Regions from separate parts of the Homo sapiens genome. Here all the other regions are linked to region 1. The links are contacts of gene promoters, found by promoter capture Hi-C in human tissues and cell types (Jung and others, 2019). All regions are on one chromosome and are shown on one strand. The core of a region is centred on a gene start or on the middle of the fragment in contact, and the rest is flanking DNA. Distances in the headings are between cores, read along the strand shown. Region 1 holds the start of TNFRSF10D (TNF receptor superfamily member 10d). Region 2 overlaps LOXL2 (lysyl oxidase like 2). Region 3 overlaps LOXL2 (lysyl oxidase like 2).

Region 1 (4,495 bases), core at 1,728-4,227:
CTCTGCTGGGTGGAGGACATGTGCCCTGGGGATCCAGTCCGGAGTGACTGACACCAGCCCTGAGGATGTGGTTCATCCTCCCACACCTGCTAACACAGCCCTCTGAGGTTTACACAGGGCTGCTGAAGATTTTTATCTCCTCTTCACTTTACAGGCAGGAGCTGGGGCCACACCAGTGTCACAGAGCTGGAGGGGAAGCACAGCAGGGCCCAGCTGTTCCCAGCCTCCAATCTCAGGAGTCCTTGAGAGCCTCAGAGTCCGAGATTCTGGGCCGTTGGATCTTTTCGATTCCTACTTTGATAAAGAGAAGGGCGGGGCGGAAGCCTCTGTCACACAGATTGGAACAGTCCAACGCTGACAGAGCCAGGACCTGGGGTCAGGAACTGAGCTCAGCTCCAGGCTCATCTGATGTCCTCCTGACAGCCTGAAGATGGAGACCTTATCTCCATTTACAGGCGTGGCAGGTGGCAGGGACTGGCCCCAGCTGACCACGGTTCTCCAAGTTCACAGCTGGGAATTCAGTCTTCCCTGCCACCCTCCCCTGCTGTCTCATCTGGATCCCCCGGTCATCTACTCCCACTACCAAAACTCCCGTATCCTTGAAAATTCCTAATACCATTAAGGAATGAAAGTACATAACAATGTGATGAATCACCTTTTACTTCCTAGACTAGCAACGAATGAAAGCTAAGTGTAACAAGGGTGTAGGGATACAGGCACATGTGTGAACTAGGTGTGAGTGTAAGCTGAGTTCAATGGTCTTTTGGAAGAAAATTCGTAAACATCTAAAGAAACTTCTGAAATGATTTATCCCACGGAAGTAGAAGTAAAATTCTACTTCTAAGGAGTTGCCCAATAAGCTGGTGCGCATGGACATGTGGACACACGATACATACAAGGGTATTTAGTACAATGCTGTTGGAATTAGCAAAGGCAAATTTGCTTTGGGTTATATCCCATCGGGATGGGATATAACCAGCTGCCTCTAGATGGCAACAGTGAATTAACCTGTGGCTTACCCATGTAGTAAAATACAATACCCTTGTTTAAAAGAAAATCAATCTGAATGTACTGCCATAAAACATCTAATGTGATTTGTGCTAGCTCCAAAATTTTAAAAAGCAACTGTGCATTGAAATGCATTTAATAAGGCAAGATTGATGGAGGGATCAAAGCCTCCTTTGGGACGCATAGAGTTCACATTCCCAAAACTGTGAAATTCAGGTTGCTGGTCTTGTCTACACAGGTCATCCACACATTCTCTCTTCAGGGCCACTGTCCTGACACAGCCATTCTTCTAGCTGCCTCAGGTAGGTCCACCCACTATAAACTATTGTAGAAGTCAGTTGTGTAATTTTTGAGAGGTGAAAATGTCACTGCTGTTCTGAATTTAGTATTACTTCGTTGAAAGAAAACATGGAGACTCTCATGGTTCATGTAATCTTGTTTTATCCTCCCCGTTTTGTTTTTTGGTATTACGTAAGAAACCTTAGAAAGCACTGTTGGCAGAAACGTCAGTCACTCAGAAAAAGTCCTGGCAGTCTGCACATCTTATTTTTATGTCCTTCTTGTGCACCCCACTACCAATCTCAGTTTCCAAACCCAACTCACAACGAGAACTTTACATCTTTTATGCCTAAGGAAGGGGCCATCCCGCGGTCCTGCCTATGGGATACAGAGGGGACACACGGGTGGCAGTGGAAGACACTGACTGCAAGCACCTTGGTTAACCGCTTCCTGCCACTTTCAGGGTTCTATAGGAAATGAAAGTTACAAAAAACAGCGTTGGAAAGCTTTTTCACAGGCTGTTTGTTAAACTGATCTCCAAGAAACACGTGTAACAGTGTAAACATAGGGTTAATTTTGTTTGTTTGTTTGTCTGTTTTTGTTAAGGCAGAGTCTCGCTCTGTCGCCCAGGCTGGAGTGCAGTGGTGCAATCTCGGCTCACTGCAACCTCTGCCTCCCGGGTTCAAGCAGTTCTCCTGCCTCAGCCTCCTGAGTAGCTGGGACTACAGGCGCAGGCTGCCACGCCTGGCTAACTTTTTTTTTTTTTTTTTTTTTTTTTTTGAGACGGAGTCTCGCTCTTGTTGACCAGGCTGGAGTGCGATGGCGCGATCTCGGCTCACTGCAACCTCCGCCTCCCGGATTCAAGTGATTCTCCTTCTGCCTCAGCCTCCCGAGTAGCTGGGATTACAGGCGACCGCCATCACGTCCGGCTAATTTTTGTATTTTTAGTAGAGACGGGGTTTCACCATGGTGGCTAGGCTGGTCTCCAACTCCTGACCTCAGGTGATCCGCCCGCCTCGGCCTCCCAACGTGCTGGGATTACAGGCGTGAGCCACCGCGACCGGCCTGGGTTAACGTTATGAACGAACGAACGAACGAACGAACGAAAGAGGCAACCGCTCTGTGGCTTCCTGAGGTTCACTCCGGGGTTTCCATCTTGACTCCCTCCCTCCGCTGATTCTGGAACTTCCTCTGGGGCAGCTCAGTGCGGTCCTCGCCGCACGGGACAGCCAGGGGGAGCGCGCGCTCTGCTCCCTCGCGGCCCGGTCGCTCCTGCCCAGCCCGGGCACCCCACTCTTCCCCTGACTCCGACGGCGGGTTCGTCCTGCCCAGACATGCCCGGCCGCAGGCGACCCGGGCCAAGCATCCCCACCGTGTCCCCCTCTCTCCCTGCCCACTCCCGGCGCCAGGTGCGCTCTTCCCCAGCCAGGGACCGCGGCGGAGACTCACCGGCAGCAGAACCGCGACGATGAAGACGACGAACTTAAGGATCTTGGGGTCCAGGAGCCATGGTCTGGTTCCCGACGCTGTCCTGGCTCCTGGATAGCGCCCTGCTCGAGCGCTCGAGGCGGTCGGGACGCTTTGTCCCCAAAGTCCCATGAGAAGGGAGGAGGGTGGATCGAAAGCGCCAAAAATCAATCAGAAATCGTCCCCGTAGTTTGTGCGCGTGCAAAGGTTCTCGCAGCTACACTGCCAGAATAGAACGTGCTCCTCCGCTTTTATACCCCGGAAAAAAGGCGTGGTCAGTTGTACTCCCTTCCCGCAGTCACTTCCAGGCACTCAGGCTGGGTCTCCCCCAGCACCTCCAGGAGGGCCCAGGTTGTGTGGGTGGGTGCATGGACGGACAGGAACTGGCTCTTTCCGGCAGCGGTGACCCAGGGCCTGCGGTTTGATTCCGGGTCCTGTCCAGGCTGTAGGCAGCAGAAGGGGAAGGAGCTGAGGCGCTGCCCGCTGCGCTGCTGTAGTCTGGGTAGTGAGCTCCAGAGGAGGCACTGGAGGCCCATCCTGAGCCTGCTCCCTCCCCGGGCCGCCTGTCTCTCCTCTTCTTAAACCCTGAACTACTTCCTGGCCTCAGGACTTCAGTCCACTCTTAGCTTCTGCTCCCACTCCCTCCTCCCACAGCGGCCTCACTGACCAGTGCACTGATGCCACTGATGTCTCCAGCCTCCTTGCTGCTGTGACCCAGCTCCAAGCTTCTCTGGCAGGGGCTTGGTATCCCTCAGTAGCGGGTGCCTGGCACCAAGGAGGGGCCCAGTGAACACATGAGTGGACAGAATGAAGGACACAGAGGCCATGACAGGCACCTGCAGAGGCTGAGGAGTAGGTAGGAGGGAGAGGAACGCCGGGGGCATCCCTAGCCACAACCTGGCACCCTTTGCATGGTCAAAGCACAAACACTCCCTGACCAACCTTGAGGGCTCTAGTATTGAGGCCCCATGGAGACAGGGGAATCAGGGGAGTGCCTTCCAAAGTCTGTCCCCAAGTCTATTGTCTACCCAGGTCCAACTGTCTGACCTTGGGCTACTTACCTCCCCATCCAGTTGAACACACTGCCGCTGTGAGGGCAGACCCAATGTGTGGTTTTGAAGGGTGCCAGCTTGTGACCCTAAGCAGTAAGGTCAATGGCAGGACTCCTAGACCCTTGGGATGAGTCGGCTCCTGACCCCTCACATGGTAGATAGAAGAGGATAGCGCTATAGAAATGAAGGTTTTTTGGCTCATGAGAAACCTGGGAATGAAATGTCATCCTCTCCACAGGCTTGGATTTGAGCGATGGATCACCCTGAGCACCTTCCAGGGCCCAGACAATGACCTAGGGTCAGAAATGTGAGCCAGGGCCGGGCGCGGTTGCTCACGCTTGTAGTCCCAGCACTTTGAGAGGCTGAGGTGGGCGAATCAAGAGGTCAGGAGTTCGAGACCAGCCTGGCCAACATAGTTAAACCCCATCTCTACTAAAAATACAAAAATTAGCTGGGCGTGGTGGCGGGCACTTGTAATCCCAGCTACTCAGGAAGCTGAGGCAGGAGAATTGCTTGAACCCAGGAAATGGAGGTTGCAGTGAGCCGAGATTCGTGCCACTGCACTCCAGTCTGGGTGACAGAGCGAGACTCTGTGAAAAAAAAAAAAAAGAAAAAAAAATGTGTGCCAGGTCCCAGGCACTGAGCTAGGGTCAGAAATGTGCGCCAGGTTTCAGGCACTGAGCTAGACT
Region 2 (4,501 bases), core at 683-3,182, 140 kb after region 1:
ATGACAACCTGTCTGTGGGCCTCATCCCGGTCAAGACTGGCTCTTGGTGCTGCTCCAGCAGCTCTGTGGACAAACCCCACCCCCGCAAGGCCTTCTCAGGCCCCAAGGGTCAGGTAGCAGCCCCCCATGAATGATGGGAGGGTCCCTTTCCTCCTGAGCTTAGACACAGCTGTAGGGGTCTGGACAGGGTGGGGGCCGGGCTGGGTGAGGGCACGTGGCATTCGTTCAGACTCAGTTGTTGGGGGGAAGTCCCATGGAAGATGTGGTGTGGCCTGAAGACAGGAGTTGACCACGCAGGCTTCTTTACTGCGGGGACAGCTGGTTGTTTAAGAGCCCGCTGAAGTGCTCAAACTTTTTTTCCGTCTCTTCGCTGAAGGAACCACCTGAAGAGCGAGAATCGGGTAGAGAGAGTGGACAAATGAGATGCTCGGGCCTTGCCTGACCCTGAGCCAGGGGAGTGGGCCTCAGGGGCTGCTGGGGCCACCTGTGTGTGCCCTCCTCAAAAGGACAGGTGCCAGGCACTGGCCATCTCTAGGGCTGGGCACATAGCAGGTGCTCTGTCAAAGTTGAGTGAACGAGTGAATAAATATAGCGCCTTTAATTTTAACCTTTTGCCAAGAGTGAGGCCCATGACTTTTCCTGCAGAGGAAAAAGCTCTGCCTTCCCTTTTGTTCCCCAAGTCCTATCATCCAAGGAAAAAAGTGTCTTTATTGGAGACTAGAAATAACAGTAGTTTGCTAGCTTCCAGCTCTCGACAGAAAAACCTGATAGGCAGAGCCCACAGATTGCTGATGCCCACATTTTTGAGGTCACATACATAATGAGCCAGTGGCCTCAGCTCCAACCCTTAAAAAGCCTTGGGGTCTGCACTGGGCTGGCCTGGTCCTGTACCATCCTCTATCCGTGGCCGGAGCTGGCTGTAAAAACTCAGTCTCCATCCAGGCCTGTGTGTCTGTGGCTTCTGTCCTGAATGTGGAAATGTGATGCTGGCTGCATTCCCCGAGCTCTTTACCCAAATTAGGAAGCTGCCTCTGGGTCCTTGAGAAAGTAGGGCAGCTCCCGCCTGCTTCCTGGAGTGGGGGCGGCCTGGCCTTACCTATGTGGCAGTTGTACATCCAGATGCGGTGGCCGTCATAGCGGCTCCTGCATTTCATGATGTTGTTGGAGTAATCGGATTCTGCAACCTCGAAGTTGGGGTTAATAACAACCTAGGGAGAAGCAGGGCAGAGGAGGCTGCTTGTTCCCTCTGCGGCCACCTCCACCCAGGCCTGGGGCTCTGAGAGACCAGCACCTCAGGGAAGGGGAGCGTGGCAGGTGCCGGGACCCAAGACGGGGGTCTGTGGGTCTCAACAAAGTCCTTGGGGAGGGGAAGAGATGAGTCAGGGAGCAGAGGAAGCATGGCCTGGAAGAGGGAAACCCTGCCCTCTGTCCATATCCGTGTAACACACACCCCTCTACCCAGGGTGGGCCTTCGGAAGGGGGTCACCCACTCCTGGGAGTTCTGGGGAAGGCAGAAGTTGGGGTCTGGGGAGGCCCCAAAAAGAAGATGCTGAAGAGAAGCAGAAGGGTGCAGGGAGGACCTGGCGGTGTGGGAACCTGGAAGAGGGCTGCCTGGGCGTTGGAGATGGGACACTCGTCACAGGCGTGTGACTGTGGACATGTCCCTTCCTCTCTCTGTAAAGTGACAGGTGGGACTTGGGGATCCATGTCCCTGTCTGCTCTGCTGGCCGAGGGCCTGGCTCTGGGGCTGCTGGAGAAGTTGCACCCTCTCCCCATCCTTCCACCCACCCCTGTATCCGCATCCCCCCAGCTACAGCAGGAATAGGAAGGACATATTCTGGGAGAGTGTCTGTGAGGGAACAGAAAAGGGGAGGTTTACGGTGAGGACCCGAGGAGAAAAGAGAAAGGGAGGGAGAGGGAGAAGAGACAACAGTGGTGAACAGAGGGGCAGAGGACACAGATGACAGGCCTTCCCTCGAGGGTCCTGCCACATTTGGAAGGGCTGCGACCCACAGCAGGGGGGCGGGTACAGGCTGCTCGTTCAGGAACATTCTCTAAATTTGGGGCCCCAGAAGGGCCTGGACACGAACCTTTAGCAGGCCGCTGGGCTTGCCCAAAGAGGTGCTGTGGGAAGCCAAGGCCAGCCTGGCAGCCGGCCCTCTGCTCTGGCCCAGCGGGGCTGTTCTGGGGGCCTGCACCTGGCTCAGCTGTGTCCCGCTGGGGCCCTGTGCCTTTAGCTAAGGAGGTACATGCCCTGCTCCGGGGCGGCTTGAGTTTTTTCTTTTCCACCCAACCATTCTAGCTGCCCCCTCGTTCCTGGCCCACACATGGCATGGGGCAAACACAGCTCCACATGCCAAGGCCTCCAGCTGTGCAGGCCTAGGCAGCTCCTTGGCCGCCCAGGCGTCTCGACAGTGCAGCCGTGAGGGCGGCTGGATGCAGCAAGGGCTCGTGTTGGGGACACGAGGGCCAGTGTTACGTGTGGGGTGGAGGCGGGGCTGGAAATGTGTGTCCCCCACTGTTTCACCCCACTCATCTACTGCAGACCGACATCTCACGAGGGCCTGCGGGAAGTGGCTTTAGGTTTCTGTATGTCTGTGAATCTAGGAAATGATGAGAAAGCGGATAAAGCGGGGCCACCAGGAGCCAGGAGGCCCCTTCACCCCTGCCTCTGAGCTCTGCACAGGTCCCTCTGCGTGGACGGTCACTTCCTCCTCGCCCAGCTCCCTCCTCCTGTCCTTCACAGCACCACTGATGTCTGAAGTGAAGACCACCTCTTGTGTCCCGTGAGTCCCCAGGCCGGTGCTTGTGGCACCTAAAGAAGCTCCATGTCTATCTTAAGGGGAATGTTCTTTTTGATTAATCAGAGGTATTAACATGCCCCTAATGAGTCCATTTGCTAATTGTATTGTTTAGGGGTTGAGAAAACAAAATAAAGAGTTGATATGTCTGGGGTTGGGTGGCCGTGAAATGAGGGTAATGATGATGCCCCTTCCTTGGGAGATTAAATCAAACAATGCATTCCCCAGGCTTAGGCAATTGATAGTAGTTATTAAGTGGATGGCACTGGCCAGAATACAGGGAGATACACACTCACCCAGCAAAATGATAGCAAACCTCAAACAGAAACCACCAGGCACTGTATACGTGCACATGGCCACGGCTATTCATCTTTTAAAATAAATAACTCTCTGGTTAGGCCTCTCCAAGTCTGTGGTTCTGGGCTTGTGGGTGGAAAAGTGCTTGGCTGTCTGCTTTCCAGCCTCTGAAACTGCCCAGGAATTCTCTGAAAGCCCCTCTGTGGTGACTTCTCTGAAGGTGTTGTTTCTTCAGAGGACTGTCTGTAGGTGGGGACCGTGGGCCAGGCCCTGGGCTGGCTGAATGCCCCCTCAGGAAAGCTTTCAAGGTGGAATGACACATTTCTGGTCATCCACTTTGCTAGCCAACAGGGCAAGCTGGAAAACGAGATGGGTGAGGACGTAGGAGAGAGTGAGAGGGTGAGATAAAGCTTCTGCAGGCTACGTGTACCCGTGCACTGGGAGAGACACTAGGGACACAATGCCCCTTTTCTCCCCCAGTTAGAGCCCTGGCCAGAACATGCCGCTGTTTTCAGGAAGGAGGGAAGCCAAGGCCCCCTTGTTCCTCCTCAGGGCTGGCCTTCCACCCAGAGTATGTGGAAACAAATCTCGGCAACCCCTCTGACAAAGAAGTCACCTGGCCAGGCTGTGTCTCGTGTTCAGTATTTTATTCTTATAGATTCACTTTGCATTGAGAATGGCCCCTTCTGCAGATCCTCCTCTATGAGGCAGATATTTCCGGAAGAGCTAAGTCACAGATATTTGCAAGTGACTGGCTCTTTATGAGTTTGCTTTCAGTCTTGAAAGCACAGACCAAGGCAGCCTAGGGCACTAGGAGAAATGGGGATGGTGGAGACAAGAGCTCCATAGGAGACAAGAGGTGTGGGTTGCCTGAGCATGTATGGAATAAACTGGCCGGAGGAGCAAATCTAGCCTGCTGATGAGTTTTGATTTGCATGCACCAGGTGTTAACTCAATCAAATGTGAATGCCTGTGGTGTCTCTGGTCCTGTGCACGCCCTATTTCTCAGGCCCCCATGCCTGATATCTTTGGGTTAACTGATGGACCGTGATGGCCTCTGGGGGTAGCACCTTGCCCTTTAGACAGCCTGACTTCCATGCCCCTGTGTGGACACCAATGGGAAGGAGCCTGTGGAGGTGGCCTCCCCTCCTCCCCCTGCAGGGCTGGAACCCCTTCCCACCCACCTCACCTGGAACAGGTAGTCTCCAGGGGGCACGTCAGTGATGTCAACCCACTGGCAGTCGATGTCATGGCGGTACATGTCCCAGCAGCCCATGGTGATGCCCTGATCGCCGAAGTTGGCACACTCGTAATTCTTCTGGATGTCTGCGGGCAGGGTAGAGGAGAGCTCATCACCAGGGAACCATGGCCCCACTGCCGCACCCTCTTCCTGCTTCCAAGGC
Region 3 (4,549 bases), core at 1,044-3,543, 240 kb after region 1:
TTTTGCAGAAGATACCCTCAGCACTTTGTTGGCAACACATCAAGGAGGATATGTCTGTTGCCACAGGACATCCAGAGGGCCAGCTGTGTCTGCTTGTCTGACGTGGATCGTAGGAATGAAAAAACTAAAAAGAAAACATCACTCTTTGCTTAGAAGACTATAATTAAATATAATACTTAAGGTATCCCAAGTGAAGGGATCAAAAGCCCTGGACAAGAAGAACCTACTAACTGTGTTCCTAACCACAACCTCAGCATCTGCTGAGTTAGTTCTTGTTCTCATCTGCCACACACACTACTTGCCTGGTAATAGTATTTCTGCCACAGAAAGTGCAAAAGATTTGTTAAAACTCTGGACAGAAGTCTGAACTACACAGTCCCCAGCATCCTTTATCATCATCAACCAAGTGGCTATTCTTTCTTTGTTTTTGAGACAGGGTCTCACTCTGTCACCCAGGCTGGAATGCACTATAGCCTTGACCTCCTGGGCTCAAGCAATCTTCCTGCCTCAGCCTCCTGAGTAGCTGGGACTATACCATGCCTGGCTAATTTTTTTTTTTTGGTAGAGACTGGGTCTCCCTATGTTGCCAGCTATTCTGAAAAGGCGCCTAGAGACGTCCCTGACGCTGGTCACGGTAGAAGGGCTGCCAATACGCTTGGCCAAGAGGTGCTCCCTGCTGAGCAAGCACTGCATTGGACAGCAGTGGGTGCATGTGTGGAATTACTCAGGTGAGAGATTTCTGATGTCTTGCTTCAACTTACACAGGACTGAAGACTTAAGAGACTCAGCTGTGTGTTGCTCTGGTTGCATCTCTGTGAATGTCTGGTTGGCCCTTCCTTTTCTAGCCTGCAACTGCTATTCCCGCCTTGTCTGTGGGCCTAGAGCAGAGTGGCCTCGGGCCACTTCATCTGAGGCCTCATGGACCACCCAGGGTGTGACTGCCATGCAGACCGACCACAAAAGCCTTTCTCCAGGGGGAAATGGACGATGACAGTAACAAGCTGCTCTTTTAAAGCCAGGCAGCCCCTGGGAATGGGAAATCATATCTCCTGCTGTGGTTTGAATAGGTGTCCCTCCAAAAAATTCATGTTGAAATTTAATCCCCAATGTGGCAGTTTTGAGAGGTGGGGCCTTTAAGAAGTGGTTGAATCATGAGTGCTCTGCCCTCATAAACTGATGAATCCATTCACCAATTAATAGATGAATCGGTTATCATGGGAAGGGAATTGGTGGCTTTACAAGAGGAAAAGAGACTTGAGCTAGCATGTTATCATGCTCAGCCCCCTCACGATGGTCCTGCATCACCTTGGGATACTGCCAAGTCCCCACCAGCAAGAAGGCCCTCACCAGGTACAGCTCCTGGACTTTGGACTTCTCAGTCTCCATAACTGTAAGAACTAAATTCCTTTTGTTTAATAAACTACCGAGTTTCAGGTATTCTGTTATAAGCAACAGAAAATGGACTAAAACACCTCCTAAGGCTCCCCAAACTTTAAAATGAAGGAAGCAGTCATGCTTGTGCAACTGCAGCTGCTGGTGTGGAATCACCTAGAAATTCTTCCTCCATGGAGACAGCCTATTAGCTAAGGAAAAAGAATCTATGGCCGTCAGAAGGCAGGGTGATTTAAGGTTAATGTCTTGCCACTTCGGAGTTCCTCCCGTTGGATGGAATCGGGTTGACCAGTTTCTCTGCCTCTAACTGGCTATTTTATGGAAGGTCTGTTCATTCCCTGTTTCAAAGCAACAAGCGTAACAGCAGAACATCTAGGAGTCCTGTGCCAAGAGATTCCTTTTTCCCACATGATCTGCCAAGAAAGGAGAATTCCAACTTATGAGTCTCATTAACAAGGTGGAGAAATTTCTTCTTCGCTCCATTTCAAAAGCAAATAAACTTAAGTAATGAAAATGCTAAAAGCAGAAGGCTCTGGTGTTGTATTAGTCTGTTCTCATGCTGCTAATAAAGACATACCCGAGACTGGGTACTTTGTAAAGGGAGGAGGTTTAATGGACTCACAATGCCACATGGCTGGGGAGGCCTCACAATCATGGCAGAAGACAAAGGAAGAGCAAAGGAACATCTTACATGGTGGCAGGCAAGAGAGCATGTACAGGGGACTCCCATTTATAAAACCATATCTCACGAGATTTACTTCTCAGGGGAAAGATCTACCCCCATGATTCAATTACCTTTCATCGGGTCTTTCCTACAACACATGGGAATTATGACAGCTACAATTCACAATGAGATTTGGGTGGGGACACAGCCAAGCCATATCAGGTGTTGCATATCTTCATTGGTCAAATGCAGAATAAAGTCATGCATAAACTAAGGGCTTCAATGGGAAGCCTATATACCCCTACTTCTCTGTCATAGGATTTGAGGGCTTCAGCATGAAGGTACCAGCTGTCAGAGTACTCAGGTGATGCTCAGAGAGGGGAGATTGTCCTCTACTAGATTTCTTTCTGGGGCCTTTGTTTCTTCCAGGAATCCCAGCAACAGTCATTTCACTCATCCTATTTTTACACCTTGGAGTCAAATAATGAGGAAGTACACTGCTCTCTAGTTCAGAGAGGGCAGCTCTGAGCCCTTACAGTTTTGCAATGAGCTAGGAAACAAACCCTGGCTTCCTGATTTTGCAGTTCATTTATCTCAAGCACCAAATGTCCAATTACTAATATTTACACAGGGATTTCTGACAGCAGGTGTATAGGAAGTGATAAGCCCAGGATGAAGCCTGAGCCAAGAAGAACTCTTCAGAGAGCAGCTGAGAGTCCACGAGTAACATGGAGAACCAGAACCACCGAAGCCCAGCCATGAGGAGGCTGGGTTAGACCCTGGCTCCCTGGGTCACCAGCTGTGCCCTCTGGACAGCTTATCTGTTTATCCATTTCCTCAGCTGAGAAATGAATTTGAAAATACTCACCTAACTCTTTAGTGGGACCTTGTAAGAATCAAATGACATAGTGGACAGAAAAGTAGTTTGAAAGGAAGAACATAACAATAGGAATGTAACAAGTTACACAAATCAACAGAACTCAGATCAACTATAAAAAAAGACATTTTGAGGAAAATTGGGAAATGCTTAAATATAGACTGCTATTTGGCATTAGATGATACCAAATATTTTTTTTTTAGTTTTCTTAGGTCTAAATATGGCATCATAGTTATGTAAAATCTTTAGAAATCACACTGAAATATGTAGCAATGAAATGACATGATGTATAGGATTTGCTTTAAACTACTTCAATGACAGAAACAAAGGGACAGATGACGTACATGTGGCAAAATAACTGTTGAAATTCAGTGAGAAGCTTATGAGGCATCATTATACCCTTCTCTCTACTTTTTTTGCATACTTGAAATTTTTTGAGAATAAAAAATAAACAATGTAGTGTTTTCTGGGACTCAACACCTTCGCTGATGGTCATGTCTATCTAGAGCACAGAAAATCTGTTTCCTTCACAAAGCCCTTCCACACTGGCCATCTAGAGGTCAAAGGACAAGGACTTGGGAAGAGGCCAGGAGAGGCCAGTTGGAAAGAAAATAAAAGGAAGCATCTTTGCAGAATCTCCTATCTGTGATACTTAAAATGTCAGCCAATGTGTGGTGTTAAGTACGTTTTGTTTTCAGACCTGAGTTTCATACTCAACTTTGCCACTCAATGCCTAAGTGACCTTAGACTAAGTCACTTTCTAACACAAAGTTACAGGGAAGCAAATGCACATGCATGCACAAACACACATATACATATACACACGTGCACACATGCGTGCACACACATACACACAAGTGCACAAACGCGCACACACACATACACATGCAAACATGCACACAAACACAAATACACATATACACATACAGGTGTGCACACATGCACACAGGAATACATATGCACACACATTGCGTGCACACACACGTGCCCGCGCACACACACCTGTGTGCGCATATAAACACACACCGGTGCACACACATACACAAACACACTCGTGTGGAGACACACACATGCACACATACATGTGCCCACACATACACGTGCACACATGCATACACAAACGTGCGCGCGTGCACACACAGATTAGTGAGACTCAATTTCCTTGGGGAGAGCCTTGGTAGCCACTGGGGCCCATGGGGAGCACGCATCTTGTCATGGCTCTGGTGGCCATTCCAGGGCAGATACTAGGGACCAGGAAGAGGAACGGGACAAAGGTGAGGAGAAAGATTAAAAATTTAGTCAAGTTAGGATCCAGTGAGTCAGTCACTTATCTGGGAACTGACCAGGGAAATGAACTCTTCCTCTTCCACCCTAAACCCCAACCCTGACCATTAAGTACATGATACACCATCAATAACTAATTCATTCCACCAAAGATGACAAATGTTGTTTTGGGGTTCCAGGACGGACAGGCTAGCAGTGGTGTAGGGGAGGGGCCTGGAGTAAGAGGTATGGGTTTCAGTCCCCACATTGACTAACTCAGTGACCGTGAGCCTCAGCGTTTTTCTTCCTCTGGGAGAAAAAAAAAAAAAGTATTGTTTTTGAGATCTCTGCAG

Evidence for each region. Contacts are between HindIII fragments. The study calls those that stand out against the background at their distance.
Region 2: a contact is called between a fragment that was not itself captured here and the fragment with the promoter of TNFRSF10D in region 1, in 1 of the 25 tissues and cell types used here (spleen).
Region 3: a fragment that was not itself captured here is called in contact with the fragment with the promoter of TNFRSF10D in region 1 in 1 of the 25 tissues and cell types used here (mesenchymal stem cells).

The regions. Positions count from the first base shown.
Region 1 is chr8:23,161,050-23,165,544 of GRCh38, forward strand. It overlaps TNFRSF10D (TNF receptor superfamily member 10d), which reads right to left and starts at 2,978. Exons shown (of 9, transcript NM_003840.5): 1 at 2,737-2,978. The coding sequence starts at 2,886. RefSeq lists an enhancer at 2,716-2,835. The HindIII fragment of the contact is 7,003 bases long and covers 869-4,495 here.
Region 2 is chr8:23,297,740-23,302,240 of GRCh38, forward strand. LOXL2 (lysyl oxidase like 2) reads right to left here. Exons shown (of 14, transcript NM_002318.3): 12 at 4,288-4,424; 13 at 1,097-1,208; 14 at 1-383. The coding sequence ends at 304. Among named protein-coding and RNA genes, the nearest start is that of R3HCC1, 12 kb to the left of the region's middle. RefSeq lists enhancers at 3,842-4,342, 4,343-4,501. The HindIII fragment of the contact is 3,041 bases long and covers 413-3,453 here.
Region 3 is chr8:23,398,268-23,402,816 of GRCh38, forward strand. All of the region lies in intron 1 of LOXL2 (lysyl oxidase like 2), which reads right to left. Among named protein-coding and RNA genes, the nearest start is that of LOXL2, 3.6 kb to the right of the region's middle. The HindIII fragment of the contact is 7,857 bases long and covers 1-4,549 here.